Regions from separate parts of the Homo sapiens genome. Here region 2 is linked to region 1. The links are contacts of gene promoters, found by promoter capture Hi-C in human tissues and cell types (Jung and others, 2019). All regions are on one chromosome and are shown on one strand. Each heading gives the region's core, a stretch centred on a gene start or on the middle of the fragment in contact. The rest is flanking DNA. Distances are from core to core; before and after follow the strand shown.

Region 1 (4,910 bases), core at 1,898-4,397:
GAATGGGAACAACCCATTTGTCCATCATGGGGTCAACACACAGTCACGTCCAACCACCGCCTAATTTCATACAGCCTATGAGCTAGGAGTGGTTGTTATATTTATATAATAGTTTGTGAAACGTGAAAAGTTACATGATATTCAAACTCGGTGTCCATAAATAACATTTTACCAGAGCACAACCACGTGCATTCGCTTAGTGTTGGCCATGACTGCCGGCCGCCACGTGGTGAAGTCAGCTATACCCAGAGGTCTGGCTTTTGTCCTCAGCACCTAAATGGTAAGTTTGTTTTGTCAACAGCTGCTTTTGTGTTGTCTGAGAAAAGTGATGCATGTGACCACGAGAACGTCCACTCAGAAAGTGGACGGGGTGGGGCAGTGAGACCACAGGACAGAATGTCAGCTCAGAAAGCAGACGGCGGGGGGCAGTGAGACCACAGGACAGAATGTCTGCTCAGAAAGCAGACGGCGGGGGGCAGTGAGACCACAGGACAGTGCCGCTCCACTCTGACAAAGATGAATCCCGCATGGTTTCAGAGCTGGGAAGGGCCATGGAGGCTTCCAGTACAGCCTTTGACTCACCTGGGAACCCTAAAGACCCCCCAACTTGCCCCACATCCCATATTCTGACTTGGTTGGTGTAGGGCAGCCTAGCTCTAATACAGGGGCAGTTGGAGTGAGACCTACTCTGGTTCTGAGCTAAGGGAGATCTCCAGAGCAGAACTGCATCGGGACATGGCCTCACTGTCCTCGCTGAGCCGGGGGACACAGCTGGGGTCTGCCCCATCCCAACCCTCTCCTTAGGAGGCTGCCTCACTCTTCACCCACCTGCACCTGCACCCACCTGCATGTCCCGCCCAGGACATGTCCCTCCCCACCCAGGACTGGGACCACTGCCAGGTGCCCCTGTCCCACCTGAGAAACCACGCCAGGCATGCCCCCTGCCCAAGGTCCCACCGCAGGGCACCTCTATCCCTCAGGACCCACCGCAGGGCACCCCCATCCTTCAGGACCCACCGCCAGGCATCCCCCACCAGGATCTACTGCCTGGTGCCACCCCAGGACCCACAGCCAGCCACCCCCCACCCCAGGACTCACCACCAGGTGCCCCCACTTCAGGACCCACCACCAGGCACCCCTACCACCGCCAGGCACTTCTCCCCAAAACCCACTGCCAAACGCCCCACCAGGACCCACTGCCATGTGCCCCCAGCCCCCAGAACCCACCGCCAGGCACCCCCCAGCACCTGAGGACCCACCTCTAGGTGCTTCCCCAGTACCTACCAGGCACCCCTTCCCCCTAGACCCACTGCCAGGTCCCACCCCCAGGACCCAAAACTGGGTGCCCCCCGGACCCACCGCTAGGTTGCCCCACCAGGACCCATCACCCGGTGACCCCAATACCCACCGCCAGCTGCCCCTCCTTCAGGACCCACCACCAGGCTCCCTCCCAGCACCCATTGCCAGGCACCCCGTTCCCCAGGACCCATCACTGGGCACCCCCCTTGGACCCACCGCTAGGCACTCCCCCTCCAGGATCCACTGCTGGGCACCCCCCTTGGACCCACCGCCGGGCATCCCCCTCACCACTGCCTGAGGCTGCCTTGGCCTGGCCCCTTCCTAGCTGCTGCCCTCTCTGCCTCCTTCACGCAGATCTGCTGAGAGGATCCTGCATAAGCCTCCTGTCCCACCATGGGGAGGTCCATGCAGCATGGAGCCCAGGCCTCCCTCGAGGGAGACTGGGAGGATCCCGCCCTGTCAGGCCTTCGGATGAGATGGCACCCTTGGCCAACAGCAGCCCTGAGCCAAAGGCACCGACAGGCTCAGATTTCTGAGCTGAAATCGTGTTTGCTGTTTGAAGCCCCCAAGTGTTGGGGTGAGTCGTTCATCAACAATAGACAACTCCTCACACCACGTAGGCACTTCTGTTTCGTCTGTTTGGTAATTTCCGTATTCTCTTTTTTTAACTGGCATTCTCTCCACATCCCTAAGTCACACATGGCAGCCCGCTTCTTTCCTGGTGGCTCTGACTTTCGGTGCTCTTGCCCCTTGGCGGGGCCGCTGTCCTGTGGCTGTGGCCACACCCGGAGTGAGAGGCTGGAGGCCGTGTAGCCTCATGGCCTTGGACATGAGCAGGCCCCTGGACGATCTCTCCTTGCCTCTGCAGCCACCAGCCCGCCCTCAGTCCCCTCCCCAAGACTCACCCAAGCAGCGTCGGGATCTTCCCGGTCAGCGTGGAGAAGGCCACACTGAGCTCAGTGAGCTGCGCCATCTTGCTGAGCTCCCGGGCGATGGAGGCGAGGAGGGGGTCCTCGCCGTCGGGAGTGGAGGCGTAGGTGGGGGGTGCATCAAAGGCCTTGGTGGGCAGGGTGAGCGAGGCCAGCCGGGGGAAGCCCACCTGGGCCAGAAGCTGCTGCACGTGGCCCGCATGCAGCCGCACGTTGTGCACCACCTCCAGCTTGCGCAGGGCACCCGGGCCAGCCAGACGCAGCACGTGCAGGAGCTGGCTGGGGCTCAGGCTGTCCGCCCGGAACGAGGGGCAGTGCACCCGCAGAGGGGCCGGGCCCGCTGGCCTCAGAGCCTGCACCACCGCCTCGAAGTTGCCCTCAGTGACGAAGAGGTCGGCGAGGACCTCGACGGGGCGCCCGGCTGCGAGGGGCTCTGCCTGCAGCTCACAGCAGGTCCTGGCCAGCAGCTGGGTGCGGCCCCACCTGCCCAGCGCCCTCCCGCACGGGCACCGCTGCACCTGCACATCTCGGATGCCCGTGAGGTCAGCCACCCGCAGCCGCCGGCGGCTCCGGTCCTGCAGCACGTGGTCCGCGAGGCCGCGCACCAGCGCCTCCAGGCAGGCCCTGCAGGTTCTGTCGCGCAGGTCCTGGGGGTGGTCGGCACCAGGACCCAGCAGCGCTCCCAGCCGGAACTCCTCCAGGGGCCAGCGCCCCAGCACCGCGCGCGTCACCTCCGCCTGCTCCAGCAGGTAGCTGGCTTTGAACAGGAGTGGGTAGAGGTTGTGGGCCACGCTGTCCAGGCTCTGCCGGGCCACCTGGGGGTGGGACACCAGAGCTTCTGCAGAAATGAAGCGGAGTGACCTCATTGTGTCCATGGCCCGAGACAGGACCGCTCCCCACGACTTTCCCCAAGGCGTGTGCCCTTCACGCCTATCTTTAGCTGCAGCAGCTGTGAGCAGCCTGCCCTGGGGGCCCTGCCACGGGGCCTTATGATCATCTGACTGCTATTTTGGTCCTGGGACACCTGCGTCTGCCCGGCCTCGGGGCACGCAGCCGTTGGGAGCTGCTTGGCTCAGGCACCCAGCCGTTGGGAGCTGCTTGGCTCAGGCACCCAGCCGTTGGGAGCTGCTTGGCTCAGGCACCCAGCCGACACAGAAAGGCAGCCCGTGCCCATGGCAGGGCTGGGCAGAGAAGCCTGTGCTCCATGCTGCAGAAAGCCAGTCTTGGCAGGCGTTCGTGCTGGCGGCCGGTGAGGCCAGCGGGCAGGTCCTGTTTACCATCCAAGCGGGGCTACTGCCCAGCTCTGGGCACCTCCCCCACCAGTCAACGGGGCAGAGAACAGGCCAGGCCCCTGCGCCTCACTCGGTAACCAGTTCCCTTTCCACAGTGGCCTCTGGGGCCGCTCCCACACTTCGCCTCGCATCTGGGGTGAGACGAGTGGCCAGGAATGGAGCTGCTGTTTTGCCCCTTCCCTGTGCCTTTCCTTCTCCCCAAGGACCCGGCGGGGGTGGCTTCCCTACTTTCCATGGGAGAGAGTGGCTGGGAGAGGTGGAGCCTCCCTGATGGCCTCGGATGAGCCCCCAGCTCTCTCTGAGCTGCAGTGTCCTGTCTGCAACCCTGCCGCCTGTGCGGCAGGGAAAGCTGCAGGGAATGGGATACACCTGTGTTGGGGGGCGGTGCCTGATGGTTCACTCCCAGCACTGACCGTGTTGGACAGCTGATGGGTGCTGCACTCACCTCTCCCCGTGACACTGCCACTCAGGGCAGGGTCAGCACACATCGCTGCACACATCACTGCACACATCACTACAGGGCACCACGTGTCCATGGGCTTTGGAGGGTCACGGCCATGAGACAGAGGCTGAGGGAGACTGAGAGAAGTGAGTGACGGAGACTGAGACAGAGACAGAGGGACAGAAACTAAGAGGGAGAGAGACAGAGACTGAGGGAGAGAGAAAGGGAAACAGAAAGAGACAGACTGAGAGAGAGACAGAAAGGGAGAGACAGAGACTAAGAGAGAGAGAGAGAGACTGGTAGGCAGAGACAGAGACTGAGAAAGACAGACAGACGGGGAGACAGAAAGAGAAACAGCAGTGGGAGGGGGAAGGCTGCTGAGCAAGCTTGGAGGGTGCTGGTCATGGGTGCCCCACCAGCCTCCCTGTCTGACCCTCCCCAGTTTGTTCCCTGAGCCTGAGCAATGCCTCTCCCCGGGAGGCGACCCATGCAGAAGGGACTGTGCTCCGTTGTGGGGCCCAGGCACTGTCCAGCAGGCGGAGGTGTGTGTGAAGAGGTGGGTGGGCCCTGACCCCACCCTTCAGGGGTGGCCGCCCTCGGCCAGCCGATGTGGGCCCCCGGGCTCCCCTCATGAGGTGCACAAGAGGTTTCCCCAGACACACGGCCCCTTTCCAGGACCAGATAAGAGAATCTCGAAGGACACAGTAGAAAAACATGTTCCATTGGTTTTTATGATTAAAATTTTTAACAATTCAGTATTGATACAAAGTAAACACTTAACAACAGTGGCAGGTAACGCCATTTCCCAGACACCTTTTGGGTTCTGAAAAGTGGTTTCCAGAACCTTCCTTTACCTACTCGGGCTCTGTGTGGCCCAACACCCTGCTGTCACTGCGGGGCCCCTGGGTCTCGGAGGGTGGAGACCATGGCTAGGAAGGTCAGCCAAGG
Region 2 (4,548 bases), core at 1,419-3,918, 41 kb after region 1:
TATTTTAAAATCCATTGGAAATCTTATAGCTGAAAAATACAATATTTGAACTAAAACATTCACTGGGTAAATGTATTAGTCTGTTTTCACACTGCTGTAAAGATACTACCTGAGACTGGGTAATTTATAAAGGAAAGAGGTTTAATTGACTCACAGTTTTGCATGGCTGGGGAGGCCTTAGGAAACTTACAATCATGGCAGAAGGCAAAGGAGAAGCAAGACACATCTTACATGGTACAGGCAAGAGACAGAGTAAGGAAGGGCCACACTTTAAAACCATCAGCTCTCATGAGAACTCACTCACTATCAGAAGAACAGCATCTGCCCCCATGATCTAGTCACCTCCCACCAGGTCTCTCCCTCCACACGTGGGGATTAAAATTTGAGAGGAGATTTGTGTGGGGACACAGAGCCAAGCCACATTAGTGAGTTTAACAGCTGAAGAGATGACAGAGTAAGGAGCCAGTGACCCTAAGGACAGGATCAATGGGAACAACCTGATATGAAGACTAGAGAGGAAAAAAGTTAAAAAAGACAGATTCTTAGAGATCTGCGGGACAATACTGGTATACGCAATTGAAGTACTAGAAAGAGAGAGAGAATAAAGCAGGAAAAAAGTTTTTAAGAACTAGGCCAGGTACTGTGGCTCAGGCCTACAATCCCAGAGCTTTGGGAGGCCAAGGTGGGAGGACTGCCTAAGGCCGGGACTTCGATTCCAGCCTAGGCAACATAGCAAGAACCTGTCTCTTAAAAAAAAAAAAAAAGTAGCTTGGCATGGGGGTGCACACCTTCAGTCCCAGTTACTCAGGAGGCTGAGGTGGGAGAATCTCTTGAGCCCAGGAGTTTGAGATTACAGTAAGCTCTGATTGCACAACCACACTCCAACCTGGGTGACAGAGCTAGATGCTGTCTCAGGAAAGGAAAAAAAAAAAAAAAGACAGAAAGAATGGCTAAAAAGGTCCTAAAGGTGGTGATAGACATGAATTCACAAATTTAACGTTCAAGCCTAAACTGGATAATGAAGAAAACCAAGCCCGCTCGCATTGCGATTTGCTCAAAAGAAAGGAAGTACCTTGGAAACAGCCAAAGGAAAATTAACACACTTCATAGAGATGAACAATGATCTGAATTATGATGAACTTTTCTTCTAAAATTATGGAGGCCAGAAGGCAACAGAGCAGTATCTTTAAAGTGCTGAGGGGAAAAGGAGAACTCCTCTCAAACCAGAATTCTAGATGTAACAAAAATACCCTTTCAGAATGAGGCCAAATGAAGAAGATGTTTTCAGATAAAAGAGGAAGATACAAAGAAAGAGAAGGAAAGAAACCATATGAGGTGGAGAAGAAAGGTCACATTTTTAAGTTTTTCATGGCATACTCTGCAGGACTCCTGCAAGAACTTACGGGGTAGGAAGTAGGTTTCCAGGCTCCCACATGGATGCAATTAGAACTTATCTAAATTCCTTCATGTGTTTCATCTCATCTAGGTGCCTTAATGTTTAATTTTATCCATCACTCAGGATCCCACAGTCTAAACCATTACCTGAATTATTGCATCCTTGTCAGGCCTAAATGCAGATTCTTTATCTACCAACAGCAAGATACTATGAATTATAGGAGATGTGTTGTTCTGAAATAAATAAGAAATAAATATTACTGATTAGCTTTCTAATTTTTAACTTCATTAATAGAATTGCCCAATTTTGAGTGGTACTACTTCTGTCATAGTTTCCCAGAGTGCCTACAGTGCATAAAACATGGCTGACTTTGCCCTGAAATGTAAATTATTTGCCCTTATGAATTTTTAATGTAATCAGGTTTATCGAGGTATAATTTACATACAATAAAATTCACCCTTTTTAGTGAATAGTTCTATAAGTTTTGATGAAAGCATAGTCATGTAACCATCACCACCATCAAGACAAAGAACTGTTAAGCAACCCCAAAATTCTCTTGTGCCTCTTCGTAGCCAAGCCCTCTCCTATGCCCAGCCCCTGGCAACCACTGACCTGCTTTCGTCTCCACCGACTTGCCTTTTCTAGACATAAATAGACTCAGGCAGGAGTGGCCTCTCTCACTTAGCATTGTGCATTGGGAACTCATCCCTGTTGTGGAGATCAACGGTTTGTTCCTCTGTTTTGCTGAGCAGTATTCCACGGTATGCCTCACCACAATCTGTTCATCCATTCACCAGCTGAAGGATAACTGGGTTGTTTCCAGTTTTTGGCAATCATGGGTAAAGTCACTATAAATATTGTGTGAACACAAGTTTTCATTTCTCTTGGATAAATATCTAGGAGTGGGATTTCTGGCTCATGTGATAAGTAAGTATTTTCCAGAGTGGCTGTACCATTTTGCATTTCCATCAGCAATACCAAGCATTTGTTACTGTCAAGCTTTGTTACTGTTTTTGTGTGTTTCATTTTGGTTTTCAGTTGCATTTCCCCAGTGATTAATGACGTTAGGCATATTTTTATGTGCTTATTTGCCATCTGTGTATCATCTTCAGTGAAGAGTACTCAAATCCTTTCCCATATTTTATTGGGTTGTTTTCTTATTACTGAGTTTTGAGACCGTATATATTCTATATACAAGCCCTTTATCAGATGTGCATTTTCAATTGTTTCATTGTGGTGAAACACTATCATCATCATTTTTCAGTGTACTGTTCAGCAGTCTTAGGTACATTCATAACGTAGTGCAACCACCACCACCATTCGTCTCCATAACTCTTTTCATCTTGTAAGAGCAAAACCCTGCACCCGTAAAAGAAAAACTCTCCATTACCCCCTGCTCCTGGCACCAGGCAACCATAATTCAACTTTCTGTCTCTGGGATCTGGGCTACTCTGAGTACTCATAGAAGTGGAATGTTTGTCTTTTTGTGATTGGCTTATTTCACTCAGCATGTTCTCAAGATTCATACATGCTGTGGCATATGTCAGAATTTCCTTCCTTTTTAAGGCTGGATAATATTCCATCGTAAAGATAGGCCACATTTTGCTTATCCATTCATCTGTTGATGGGCACTAAGGTTGCTTCTGTGTTTTAGCTGTTATGGATAATGCTGCTATGAACACAGCTGTATAAATCTCTGAAACTCTGCTTTCAATTTCTTGGGTATATACCCAGACACAGTATTGTTGGATCATATGGTAATCCTATATTTACTTTTTTGAGGAACTGCCAAATTGTTTTCCACAATGAGTCACTATTTACTGTTCCCATCAACCGTGCACAAGGGTTCCAGTTTCTCCGTATCTTTGCCAACACTTGTTGTTTTTTTACAATAGCCACCCTAATGGATGGGGAAGTGGTATTTAATTGAGGTTTTGATTTGAATTTCTCTAATCATTAATGACATTGAACATCTTTTCATGTGCTCATTAGCCACATATATATCTTCTTTGGAGAAATGTCTATTCAAGTCTTTTGTTCATTTTTGAATTGGGCAGTTTGGTTTTTGTTGTTGTTGAATTTTAGGAGTTCTCTATATATTCTGGATATTAACCTCCTATCAGATACATAATTTGCCAAAATTTCCCCCCATTCTGTGGGCTGCCTTTTTACTCTGTTGATAGCGTCTTCTTATTTACTTTTTTTGAGACGGGGTCTCTCTCTGTCATCCATACTGGAGTGCAGTGGCATGACCATGGCTCACTGCAGCCTTGACCTCCTGGGCTCAAGCGATCCTCCCACCTCAGACCCTTAAGTAGCTAGGACTACAAACATGCACCACCATGCTCAGCTAATTTTTTTTTTTCATAGAGACAGAGTCTTACTATATTGCCCAGGCTGGTCCTGAACTCCTGGGCTCAAGCAATCCTCCTGCCTCAGCCTCCCAAAGTGCTGGGATTACAGGAATGAGCTACCACATCTGTCTGGTAGTCTTTTGATGCACATTTTTTAATTTTTGAAAAGTCTGATTTGTCCATTTTTTCTTTTGTTGCTGGTGCCTCTGATATTATATCTAATAAATCATTGCCAAATCCAATGTTAGAAAACTTTTGCCCTATGTTGTCTTCTAAACGTTTTATAGTTTTAGGTCTTACAATTAGGTTTTTGATCCATTTGAGTTAATTTTTTATATGGTGTTTAGGTAAGAATCTAAGTTCATTCTTTTGCATGTGAATATCTAGTTTTTTAAGCACCATTTGTTAAAAAAGACTGTCCTTTCTCCATTGAATGGTCTTGGTACCCTTTTCAAAAATCATTTATGTATATGATTGTTAGTTTCATGGCTTTCTACTCTATTCCATTGTTCTATACGTCTGTTTTAATGCCAGTGCCAAACTTTTTTGATTACTGTTGCTTTGTTAAGTTTTGAAATCAGGAACTGTGAGTCCTCCAGCTTTGTTTTTATTTTTTACAATTGTTTTGGCTATTTGGAGTCCTTTGAGATTCCCTATGAATTTCAGGATAGGTTTTCCTATTTCGGCAAGAAACAACAGCTTAATTTTGATAGGGATTGCACTGAATCTATACATCACTTTGTGTAGTATTGATATTTCAATACAATATTAAGTCTTCCAATCCTTGAACATGAGATA

The links. The method cuts DNA at HindIII sites, captures the fragments that hold promoters and counts their contacts. A contact is called where the count stands out against the background at its distance.
Region 2: a contact is called between a fragment that was not itself captured here and the fragment with the promoter of LRRC14B in region 1, in 3 of the 25 tissues and cell types used here (mesendoderm cells, spleen and thymus).

The regions. Positions count from the first base shown.
Region 1 is chr5:189,732-194,641 of GRCh38, reverse strand. LRRC14B (leucine rich repeat containing 14B) reads right to left here and starts at 3,147. Exons shown (of 2, transcript NM_001080478.3): 1 at 2,205-3,147. The coding sequence starts at 3,103. It overlaps LOC124900929 (a long non-coding RNA gene), which reads left to right. Exons shown (of 2, transcript XR_007058670.1): 1 at 1-280; 2 at 1,654-1,914. It overlaps PLEKHG4B (pleckstrin homology and RhoGEF domain containing G4B), which reads right to left. Exons shown (of 20, transcript NM_052909.5): 20 at 4,676-4,910. RefSeq lists an enhancer at 3,433-3,482. The HindIII fragment of the contact is 15,773 bases long and covers 1-4,910 here.
Region 2 is chr5:148,594-153,141 of GRCh38, reverse strand. PLEKHG4B (pleckstrin homology and RhoGEF domain containing G4B) reads right to left here. Exons shown (of 20, transcript NM_052909.5): 7 at 1,543-1,629. Among named protein-coding and RNA genes, the nearest start is that of LRRC14B, 41 kb to the left of the region's middle. The HindIII fragment of the contact is 5,033 bases long and covers 152-4,548 here.